Regions from separate parts of the Homo sapiens genome. Here region 2 is linked to region 1. The links are contacts of gene promoters, found by promoter capture Hi-C in blood cells and fetal thymus (Javierre and others, 2016). All regions are on one chromosome and are shown on one strand. Each heading gives the region's core, a stretch centred on a gene start or on the middle of the fragment in contact. The rest is flanking DNA. Distances are from core to core; before and after follow the strand shown. Region 1 holds the start of RAB9A (RAB9A, member RAS oncogene family). Region 2 holds the start of GEMIN8 (gem nuclear organelle associated protein 8).

The links. The method cuts DNA at HindIII sites, captures the fragments that hold promoters and counts their contacts. A CHiCAGO score of 5 or more calls a contact.
Region 2: the fragment with the promoter of GEMIN8 here is called in contact with the fragment with the promoter of RAB9A in region 1 in 1 of 17 cell types (total CD4 T cells); the score reaches 5.4 in total CD4 T cells.

What each region holds. Positions count from the first base shown.
Region 1 is chrX:13,685,896-13,692,065 of GRCh38, reverse strand. It overlaps RAB9A (RAB9A, member RAS oncogene family), which reads right to left and starts at 2,938. Exons shown (of 3, transcript NM_004251.5): 1 at 2,778-2,938. RefSeq lists silencers at 1-4, 2,629-2,788, 2,799-3,038 and an enhancer at 3,189-3,238. The HindIII fragment of the contact is 3,610 bases long and covers 180-3,789 here.
Region 2 is chrX:14,027,000-14,033,169 of GRCh38, reverse strand. It overlaps GEMIN8 (gem nuclear organelle associated protein 8), which reads left to right and starts at 3,278. Exons shown (of 5, transcript NM_001042479.2): 1 at 3,278-3,393. RefSeq lists silencers at 89-271, 2,938-3,077, 3,112-3,311 and enhancers at 2,688-3,188, 3,189-3,689. The HindIII fragment of the contact is 15,884 bases long and covers 1-6,170 here.

The DNA.
Region 1 (6,170 bases), core at 1,689-4,188:
CTCCCAAAGCGCTGAGATTACAGGCATGAGCCACCACACTCAGCCTGTTTTGCTTTTTTTTCCTGTTTTGCTTTTTTTTAATGAACACCTGGCCCCTGTCCTTGAGTAGCCCAGGCAATAAATTCTGTTCTAGGATGATGTCAGAACCTAATCTTATGACTGTGATTGGACTGTAAGCTTCAGGAAGGTTGGGACTCCCCACCGCCCTTCTCATCAGCACCTTTGTATCAGTGCCCCACAGGCTGCTCAGACAACTGAAATAATGCAGAAACTAAACTTTCTAAGTCCACTTTAATGGCTCTGAATAGCTCTAAAGTTCTTTTTGTCATTTTTGCCTTACAACAAAAAACAGATTCTGCTACCAGAAATTATTTGGTCTTTTTTTTTTTTTTTTTTTTTTTTTTTTGAGATGGAGTCTCATTCTGTTGCCCAGGCTGGAGCGCAATGGCGTGATCTCGGCTCACTGCAACCTCTGCCTCCCAGGTTCAAGCGATTCTCCTGCCTCAGCCTCCTGAGTAGCTGGGATTACGGGCATCCGCCACCACGCCTGGCTAATTTTTGTATTTTTAGTAGAAACGGAGTTTCACCATGTTGGCCAGGCTGGTTTCAAACTCCTGACCTCGTGATCCGCCCACCTCGGCCTCCCAAAGTGCTGGGATTACAGGCGTGAGCCACCGTGCCCAGCCACTCACTCTTTAATCTTTCAAGTGAATATGCTTCTCAGTAGAGAGAATTTTCCCCTGCTCACTGTTAAAATGATGAGGTATCCCAAATAGGAAAACGACATTGCATTTGAAAAACTACAAAAGCAGTTGAAATGTAAGCTCTGGGGTTACTTGGACTGCTGAAAAGGAGGGTTTCTCAACCGTGGCACTAGTGACATTTTGGGCTAGACAACTCTGTTGTGGGGGGCTGTCCTGTAGGTTATAGAATGTTTAGCAGCAAAATTTAAAAATTAAATAACAAAAATAAAAATAAAAAAGAATGTTTAGCAGCATCCCTGGCCTCTACCCACTAGATGTCAGCAGCACCTCCCTTGCCCCCAGGTGTGAACCAAAGATGCCTCCAGGCATTGCCAAATGTCTCCTACGAGGACAAAATTGTCCTCTCTTCCAGTTGAAAACTACTACTCTAAAATTACCCAGACCTGCTTTGAATCCCCGCTCCACCCCATCACAACCTGGGTCATCTTGGAAAACAGACTGAACCTTCCTATGCCCCCCCAAATTCCTCAACTGTAACATGGAGCTCTTACTGAAGAAATGCTATGGAAATTAAATAAAATGATGTACGTACAGGATTTACACGTACGGAATATTCGCCGCAGAGTGAGTGCTCAATAAATGGTCAGAAATGAGGGGAGGCTAAAAAAAAATAATTTCGAGAACTCAAGGATCTTCTCTTTAGGCCTCCAGAGTACTGTAGTCCAGACAGAAGAAATGGTTGAGATAGAAACAAAAAGAGATGAGAGAGGTTGGAAAAGAAGTGATAGCACTAAGGTATTATTTCCCTTATCTCTAAAACCCGGCTTGGAGTCAAAGCCAATGATGTTCTACTTAGTGTTTGCCTATCTACTCTAACATTCCAAATAATAAACGAAAAAATATGCCCAGATCCCAAAAGTCTCCAGAAGAGAAACTTTGTAGTATAAACGAGGAATTTACCACAGCAGACACAAAAATACTAAAAGCACCAGACTGCCACAGCATTGTCTTAGATTTAGGAATCCAAATAACTACTAAAGTTCTAGAGAAGCAATCATGATAACTTCATAATCTTCTAAAGGAAAAACTAAAGGCTGGCTTCTTAAAAGTTCCTAACTGAATCGTTCCAGGTTTCTTTATCTCTAGTTTTGCTACACTGGACAGCTTCTGAGAGTACAGGCAATGTAGGGATTTTCCATTACAATGGTGCCAGAGACCGAAGGACAAACACATTTTTAAAGAAGCAATCAAATTCTGCCCATTGATTTTTATCAGGACGCTAAAATCCTATGAAAAGATTGTGGTCACGTGCCGATTTGGAAACTAGCAGAAAAGTTATTCCTCAAAAGAACTGTAGTCACGAGATGTGTCATCCCTTACCAAAAAAAAAAAAAAGCAATACGTCCACCAACTATTTATTAAGTTCAGCACTTAAATTTCTCATTTTGCCTTTTTACTTACCAAGTTGGAAGAAAAAAGGGAACGCGATTGTGAAACGTTAGCCAGCGTCTGAATCAGATAATGCCCCCAAAACGCCTGCAGCCTCTAAGATTGGCTTTACTTTCCGAATTCCTCACCCGAGTGGTCGTAAGACATCGAGCAAACACGTTCTGCTAGGTGGAACTTCAGAGGTCGCCAAAATCAAGTCATGGGAGCGCCTTTGTTTTCCCTACATTAATCATTCGGGTGTAGGATTTGGTTTGGGGTCTGTGGATGTGTGTCCCGGAGTGGTTGGGGGAAAGGCTGGCGTGTACGTGTGTTCCCAGGTGACCGGGTGTATTTCTCCGTGTGTATGTGCACGGGTGTCCGGGCTTTTGTATCTCCCTTTCTCCAGTGTTTGTGTGTGTTTCTGTGAGTCCCTCTCCCCAAGGGTGTGGGGACCGTCTTTCCTCCTGCGTCAGAGAGGAGGCAGGGAGACAACCAGCCGTCCTCTCTCCCGGGGCGGCCTTGTGACCCGCGCTAGCCCCGCGCGCACCGCACCCCGCCCCAGCTGCCCGAGGCCCGAGCCGCCCCCTCAGACCCCGACACCCGCGCACTCCGCCCGGTCCCGAAGGAGTCCCGAGTCCCGCTCACCTCGCGGCCACACGAAAGACGACCCGGGAGCTCTGGGCCGGCCCGTCTGGGCGCAATGAGGACAGAGAGAGGGTCGGGGACCTGCACAGCAGGAGGCAGCCGCGGTAGCGCAGCCAGGCTCCCGCTCCAGCTGCTCCCGTCCAGCGCGGAGGGAACAACATGGCGACGGGCCGGGGCGGGGCCAGGGAAAAAGCGGGGCGGGGCCTGGAAGGCGGGGTCCCGCGGCCGAGACCCTGGGGGACGGGCGCGGGGAAGGTGGAGCCGAGGCAGGCGGGGCCTGGATCGTGCTTTTCCTTCGGGTCGATTGCTCCTGAAGTGTCCTCCCGTCTGCGTTCGGGCGACAGCGAGTACGAAATAACTGTCATTTTGAAAAGTTTACGTAAAGTGGAAATAAACAGACCTCATGAGCACAGTCACAGGATGTCGTGATTACAATGATAAAAACGACTAGTCAAACGGACAAAGAACAAACAGGTGGATGAAAAATGAAAACAGTTGTGATACTGTGGAAAAACAAGAACTTTTTAAATGAAGCTATTAAAACTTTCCTTTAATCTTGTTAAAATACTGCCTCTGTCATCTCTGAATAGAAAGCGATGGTGCAAAAGGTGGTATTGGAGAAGCTCTCCTTAAGTCCTTGCTTTATGTATGAAGTTGAGTGCATGGATCCTATGATACAGAACCCTACAGGCGGGAGGGACTCATAGGGACATCTCAATACGTTTTGTACGGTGATTTAGTTTGTTTATCAGAAAACCAAATACTGCGTGTTCTCACTCATAAGTAGAAGCTAAATGATGAGAACTCATGGTCACATAGAGAGGAACAAGAGACACCAGGGCCCACTTGAGGGTTGAGGGTGTGAGGAGGAAAAGGAGCAGAAAAAAACTAGGTATCAAGTACTATGCTTATTACCTGGGTAACTAAATAATCCGTACACCAAGCCCTTGCAACAGGCAGTTTACCTACATGACAAACCTACACATGTACCCCTAAACCTAAAATAAAAGCTTTTTAAAAAAGATTTAGTCTGTTTATTTTCCAAGACAAAGATCTCACTTTTATGATGCTGGGGCTCACAACAAGTTAAATAATCTCCAGCTTTTTGGGGAGTCATTTTCAGGTAATGACTTTTCATTCAGCACTAGAAAGGTCATGTTTGAGAAAGTTCCTCACAAATTAAAAAGGCAATTTTAGAATGCTTCTGAAAACGACACATAAGCTTAAATAATTGTTTTCTCATAAACAGAAATCTATTTCTTATCTGCAGGTCATTTCCCCAAGGAAATATGTATAAACGTTTATAAAATACAAATCTGTTAAATTGGGGGGAAGAAGAAATATACACTATCTTGTTTTAAAACACATATTAAAAGTACACAGTAAAACATTATATATGAACACTAGAGTTAATTTTCCAATAGAAAAAAAAGTCATGTACATTGGGTCAAATTGCAACAAGCAATCCACAGGGTAATTAAAGAAATGCCACCTGAAAATCGTATATCCTAACCATAGTCAAGGAGTGATCAAATAGGAGTTTATCTGTGCAACTGCTAATGCCAACTAGCTATTAACAAGTGATCTCATAAAATTATTGTATTTTGAGTTAAAATAAACCTTGACAAACCCAACAGCTTTCATAAAAATGTTCTAAGAAGGTTCCATAAGTGACTCTCAGGCTGTTCCAAAATGTAAGAAGGCATTCAAACATATTTGAGTGTAGCTTATAGTACCTTAAGAAAGAATAAGCTTAGAAAGTTACTTTCTCTAAAATTACTATCAGTTGGATACTAGCCAACTGACATTTAAGAAAGTTAGTATATTCTGGTCTCTTCCACCATTCACTTCTTAACCACATTTCTATGTCAGTGCAAGAGTAAAGTGGGTTAAAAGATTTTTCTCTGAAGGGCAAGTTTGGGGGATTTTTGTTATTGGATGTGTGTGGTTGGTAAGCTGATGCAAGTTGGATAGACAGTTGCTATCTCTCTTGCTCCATAAACTTGTTCCTTGATGAAAACATTAAAGAACTAACCTAGTTTGACTCCCTTCATCTAACGAAGATTTTCATCTTTATATTCTGTAAACACCAATGCATCACTCACGGGAGAGAAAGAGGCCAAAGTTGCTATGCATAAATGATTCTTTTACTTAAATAACACCTACTTATTACTATAAGTACTAGGAGTTAATACCCCATCTCAAGCTGGAGACTGAAAGAAATCACTTCTGGCATCTCTGATGAAAAGCTACAAGTGGCTGGGCGTGGTGGCTCACGCCTGTAATCCCAGCACTTTGGGAGGCCGAGGCCGGTGGATAATGAGGTCAGGAGTTTGAGACTAGCCTGGCCAACATGGTGAAACCCCGTCTCTACTAAAAATACAAAAAAATTAGCTGGGTGTGGTGGCGTGCGCCTGTAATCCCAGCAACTCAGGAGACTGAGGCAGGAGAATCACTTGAACCCGGGAGGTGGAGGTTGCAGTGAGTCAAGATTGCGTGCCACTGCACTCCAGCCTGGGCAACAGAGTAAGACTCTGTCTCAAGAAAAAAAAAAAGCTACAAGTAAGTGGGCCCTAGACTCGGGTACAGTAAATACTGATGATAATTGAACTGCTTTTATTTTCACATACAAGGAAAAACACAGAACTCAGTTGTAGACCATTTCACCATTATATTACATATGTAAATAGTCACAAATTTGATATTTTTCCTAAGTTGTTTGGCCAAATAACAGATTTGGTCGTAATACTGCATAGATGTTCTTCTATAGCTGTACTAAGAGGGGGAAAAAGCATAAAATATACATAAAAGTAACTCAAAATTTGTTATATTTGGCTTTAAAGTCAAGCCGGAGTGAAAATTCATAACAACATATGTTAAGTGAAAAAGAACATTACCAAATAGTATATGGAAGAAAAATCCCAATTTGGTTGAGGAAGCGTTTTTTATAATATATAGCTTTTCAACATATATTGACGTATTTAATAATGCATTTATTTATATACTTACATATTTATATAATATATACATCTTCAATATTTTATACCAATGTCACACTTACCCAGTTTGCCTAGATACTAAGTTCAGCATGTTTCTTGCACTAATATAGAACTTTTGATAGTGATTCTTAAGTCAGATAAAATTTCAATGTATAAGGAAATGCCAGAAATTGGATTTCTTCACTGCTCTGCTTAAAAAGGAGTTCTCAAGCAAAAATGAATAGGAGCATCATCCTTAATCCATATATCACCAGTGAGCAAATTTCAGAATTTCCAGACTCAGATTGATGTAAGCAAATGAAAATTCTGGCCCTCAATCAAATAAAACATATATTCTTTCATGAGTCCCATGAATTCTATCCAGTGGACACTGTCAAATGGCAACCTGGGCGTC
Region 2 (6,170 bases), core at 2,029-4,528, 340 kb before region 1:
AGAAACTACATCCTGTAGCCACGCCTTTTGGCTTCTCTCCCTCAATCTCATCTCCTATGGTTGAGATAAACAGGAGCGAAATTCTCCAAAGTGTAAACCAGAGGACACGTCCTGCTGCATCTGGTGCCGTTTTCTCCCAGCACTGCCTCCCCATCCTTTCCAGACACACCAGGATACACTGATAGGGGACTACTATGCCTTAACAGGCACTGGGATTTTAGATGCCTTGTTTCAAGGAGTGGTTCTCAACCAGGAGCCATTCCCCACACCCTCACCCTAGGGACATTTGGCAATGGCTGGAAACATTTTTGATTGTCACAAATGGGGGCAGGGAGGGACATCCAGTGGGCAGAGGCCAAGAATGCTTCTAAATATCCTACAATGCACAGAATAGTCCCCACAATGAATTATGCAGCCCCAAATGCCAATAGTGCAGAAAGTGAGAGGTCATGCTTTAGAGTTCCTCATCTGACAGGATTCTTTAAAGTTTTGCTATAATCCATTTAAAATTTGAAGCATATGCCTGAGAAAAATTAAATACTGAGGAATTGCCATTTGTAAATTTCCACCAGGTGGCGCCAAATGACAAGTGAAAATCCAACCTCCTCTAGCCTCCATTTCAAAATTCAGTTTCTCTCCCTGGTTAACCCCCTGGAGTAACAATCCCCATTCTTTTCAAATAGGATTGTCGCTCCTTAGGTGCTTAGTGTTCCCCACCACCAGTATTTTTATGCAAGTGAGTTAAAGTGAGTAATGACTAAAACTCAGACTTAAAGATGAAAAGAACAGGACTACATCCTCAATCAGCTACAGAATTTCCATTCCCTGCAGCAACAAGGGTATGGGAGAATCAGCTAGTTTCTTTTCTTCTTTAGTCAACTTTTAGCTGGGCACTTGGCCATCTGAAAAAGACAATTCCAAGCTCCTGCACCCTTAGGAGGGCTAAGTAATGAAGTTCAGGCCATTAGTAGGAAGTGATCAGAAGTGCTGTGGGCCGCCTCTGGGTAGTACTCTTAAAGCAGTGGTTCTCAACTGGGGGTGACTTTGCCCCCTCCTCCCCCAGCCCAGGAGACATTTGGCAATGTCTGAGGACATTTTTGGCTGTCACAACTGGGAGACAGTACTGGCATCTTGTGAGTAGAGACCAGAGATGCTACTAAAACTCCTACAATGCACAGGACAACCCCCAAAACACAGAATTATCCAACCCCAAATGTGAATAGTGCCAAGGTGGAGAAATCCTTAGAGGGAAAGGGCATGCCCTTGGCTTTCTCTTTCCCACTGGCTGAAAGGTGCAGTGGTGCACCATCTTGGACCATGTGGGCCAAGGCAAGAAACCAGGGAGGGTGGAGCTATGAGACAGGTGGAGCTGCCATACTCTGGACTCCTTACACCCAGACTGCCATGAGATAGAAATACACTTCTCAACAGTTTGAGCCACTCCTCTTCTGGGTCTCTGTGACAGCAGCCAACTAATATTCTATCTAATGCCATAGTATACCATATATATTGTATTTTTTCATTCATAGAACCAGGAATCACTCTACCTGAACTATATCCACTCTAGGCCTGCATCCTTCTGCCTTTCCCAGGAACCCCCTAAGCTCTTTCTCCCTATCTTACCCCTCTCCATCTTTCTTTCCTGCCTCTCTAGATGCTGGCTTCTTCCTTGAGGTAGAGATTGCACCAGGCCCCATCTGACTTATCTGTCTCAATCCACACCTGACTTTTCCCATAAGACTTCACCCTCCTACCATCTCCTGCTTCTATCCATAGATATCTCATTTCCTCCCACATCCATTTTCTGAGGTGGAGGAATAATCTTTTCTAAAATAATCCCCCTCTATATACACATACTTTCTGGCCCTTACCCTGCTATACTGTCTTCATATAACTCACCACAACATACAATTCTATTTATCTGCTTATTGTCTATGTTCTACACAAAAGATTTAATTTTATGAGCCCCAAAACTGTATTGTTTACTACTGTGTATCCGGTAAATAGAATACCACGGTACAATAGAAATGCAATGCATGCCACATATATAATTTTAAATGTTCTAGTAGCCACACTAATAAAGTAAAAAGATAAAGATCAAATTTTAGTCTTTAACCTCAATAGTCCTTCTCTAAGATGTTATCACTATAAAGAAATTGAGGTATTTTACATTCTTTTTCTCATTCTTCTTCAAAATCTAGAGTGTAATTTACCCTTACAGTGTATCTCAGTTCAGACTACTACAATTCAGGTTCTCAGGGCCACATGTAGTGGTTACAATGGACAGCGCTAACATAGAATACTTGGCACATAGCCGGCATCCAGTAAATATTTGTTAAAGTTAATATTCTTCTATACCATTTTAATTCTTCTGTAGTCCAGGAATAATACAGTAATGTCACGTCATTAATACCACCCAATTGACTTAGCCATTTCCTTGTTGGGCATTTAGGTCTTTTCCAATTTTCACTTTTTAAAATAATTCTGTAATAAACATCTATCTGGTTCGTACCTGTTTTTCCTTGGAATAAATTCCCAGAAAGTATTAAATATGGTAATTGCCCCAGAAATGATATGTCACGTAAGACTTCTAATTGTTTATGCTTGGTTCTTGTTAATGACTCTTGTAATGTTAACAGGGCAGGTATTGCTGTGATGGTTATAATTACAAACATATTAGTACTAATGTTTTGTCTGCTGCAATGCATCAGGCACTCTGCATTAGGTTATGCATATCTTATAGATGAGACACACGAGGCTTGGGGAAGTTACAAACTTAGCACTGGACTCGCACTCAAACTGAGATCTGGGTTAATCTATTTTCAAAGACTGGGTGTTTTACGCTGGGACAAATTAAGAAACTAAAACTGTTTTAGTTAAGAAAGAAAACAGAAAGGAAGAAAGAAAAGGCTAAGTAAAGACAAGGGAAGGAAAACGAAGAAAGCTGAGGAAAGGACAAAAAGTTAAAGGCTGGAAACCCGGGCGGTGCAGAAGCGACCCTTATCTCGCCGGTGCAGAAGCACCGTCCGACCCCCGGCGCGGGTGCCCGCCACAGTCCCAGTGCCCCGCCCGGTGCAGCTCCCTCTCCGCCGGCCCCGCCACCCGCAGCCATCCCACGCCTGCCGCCCCGGCGCTCCACTCGGGGTAGCCGATTAGCAGGCAGCTTCCGGCCTCCAGCACTGCACCGCCTGCGGTGCGAACGTGACGTCCGCGACACAGGGGGGGACTTCCGGCGCGCCGCGCCACGCCACGTGTTCCGCACCGGAAGCGCGCTTCCAGTCGCCCCGGCAACAGCCGCCTCCCTCGCGTCCCCCACTCCCCCTCTGTCTCTCCAAGGAAAACTAGGCCCCTGCGCGGCCAACGCCCAGGATCCGCAAGCTGCGCGCCCACGAGGTGACTTCGGGGACGGCTGGGTTTCCTTTGGGGAGTGAGGGAGGAGCTTAGACGCCCCGGGCCCTGGCTTCTTCTGATGCGCAGAGAGCCGAGGTCTTGGACGTCACGTTGCTCTCATAATTATCTTAATCCCGCGACAAAAGGTGGGGCCGGAGGCCCATGAGATTCCTAAATCATTGCAGGTTAATTGTGAGAGGGGACCAGTCCCAGAGGCTCTCAGCTCTGCAGTGCTTCCGAATCACTGGACGACTCTTTAAGAATTCTGATCCCCGGGCCCCCATCCCGGACCAATGAAATCAGAATCTCTAATAGTGGGGCCCTGGCATCGGTAGTTTTTAAAGCTGCCCAGGTGATTCTGGGGTGCCGAGAACCACCGTGTTAAGGTCTGTAGGTGAATTCGGATTTTGCCCATCCAGTCCAGTATCTGAATAGAAGATCGCCCAGGACAGCCACATACTTGAAGGATGTCTAGGATATTGCCCTCTCTGCTCAAAAATTCGGGTTTCTTTCTTTTCTCTTGCACTTTAACCTCTGCAGGAGGTCAGCTTTTGGTGGGAGTTATCTTGAGACATCTGGCGCCTACAGTTTATGGGCCTTGTGTCTCTGCCCACTTATCAGTAATGAGCTGTAATTGAACCAGTGGCCAACGAAGTGCATTTTAGCTCTGAAATCTTGATGTTCCCTTAGTACAGATCAGATGGTTCTGAACAATTTTATTTTTTTCAGGAATGATGTTTTTAAACTCGTTTGACAGGCTAGGCTGTGTATTCAGCTGTTCTTCATCTCAAATCAGAACAATATTACTTAAAAAATCTAGACTAAAGATTAGTAACGCAACACTTCTAGGATTATTTATGCTCACAGCCCCCATGAATTGTAGGATGAGAGCTACCCTTTAAAAATACTATTTTTGCTAGCATAATTTATCGGAATAACAGTCTCTTTGTAATTTCAATGTGAACAGAAACCATATATTTTTAAAGACTGCTGGTTAGTAACTTGGAATAAGCATAACTGAAAGCAAGTTCACAGGTGTATAAATCCCCTCTGTGTGTTCATTGCTGTGCTGGGGAAGTATACAAACTAAAGTTCCAGAGAGAAATGTTCATTCTGAAACTGTTCTATAGATGGTGATTAATCATTTTGGGTTTTTTTTTAAAGGATAGGGTGAGATGAGAATGACGGGGGAAAGTTTTGAACAGTTAAGGCTAGAGTGTAAATTGGAGAGTTTGCAAAGTAGGTACAGAACTTTTTTTGAACAACTTCTCTACAAGAGGAAATTCAGCCACGGAACAGCTGGACAAGTGAAAAAAGAATGTAGTTGATCAAATATCAGATGAATTGAAAAGATCTTTGAAAACATAATGTATTTAAATATTTGCTTCCTGAAAAGATTTGGTGCTTTATAGTCAGTTTTTTGAGTTACTAGGTCCTCAGAGATTTTGGGGAGTAGATGCAGGAGGAGAGAACGTTATCAGGAAACAACAGACAAGCTCAACAATTTCAGCAGCATCTAAGAGCATGAAATATTAGCTATTATTTTTATGCTGGAAGGAAAATAGGAAACTTAAAAGGAGTAGATTGTAGAATCCATGCCTACAGGTAACTGAGTAAGTGCCCAAGTAAATGAGGCATAGTGAGTGCCTATAAATTCAGAAAAGAGAGATTAACATGGAATTACCGTGAATATGTTTATAGAAAAAAGTAAATTTGAAATAAGACGCCTGAAATGTACTAGCGATCTTAACTACTTTAAACTAGCCATGGTTTTTGCTGTTATGCTCTTAATTTGCAGAACCTGCCTATTCAACCCTTATTACCTTATGGTCACACTAGGTTTTGCTTATGAAGGACATGCTTGCTGTGAAACAAACTTATCTGTTTCCTCTTTTGAACTATGTTATCATTATGTCATTCTCAGTCATCCCATTGCTTGTTGTGTTCCTGAGTCAGAGGGTAACTTTGTTCCTGGCCTCATATTTCACTTTTGATTCTGATATTAGTCACAAGGGGATTCAGAGAACTTGCAAATAAACCCATTCACAAATTCATCACACTTGCTGACAAATTAAACAATGCCCTTCTGTGGGTGGAATGTCATTTGTATGAAAAAAAGAATTGTTAACTGCATCCTTTCAGCCTTACTCCTTCCCCATGCTATGCCTTCTTTGTGACAGTACTTATTACAACATCCAGAAGAGGGTAAATTGGGGTTGGGGATTGAGGGAATGAAAAGAAAATAAAACTCAGTTTTTTGGCTCCCTTGCCTATCAGTTTTAACTGTAGCTATTATAGACGGGGAGATGCAGGCTTTCTGAACACAGTGGCATGTGCACTTGAGTAGGCCTGTGTCCTGCCCAAGATGGAGCTTGGATGTCTGCAGGTGGAAGAAGGCCATTTGGACTTGAGCCATCTTTGATGTCCAAATCACTAAGCAGGGACCATGCAAAGACACAGGAGGGAGGCCATGAGGGCATCAAGCCAGATGAGCTTGCCAGCCTCAGCAACCAGCCAGGGATGGGGGCAGGGCTGCCCAAGTAGGTGGGGCAGGAAGCCCAGCCCTCAACAAAACCCTATTATATTCTTTGTCTTAGTGAGGAAGTTCTTACTGTTGTGTGTATTATTGGAAGACATCTTCTGTGATAGGGTTATTATTGCATGTACAGAGAGATTCCTTGGAACCGCATATGACTCAATCTATCTCACTCAGATTTCTCACCATACCTTCACTTATTTTGCTGCAGTGTCCAGCAGATCTCCTTGAAACAGTGTGTACT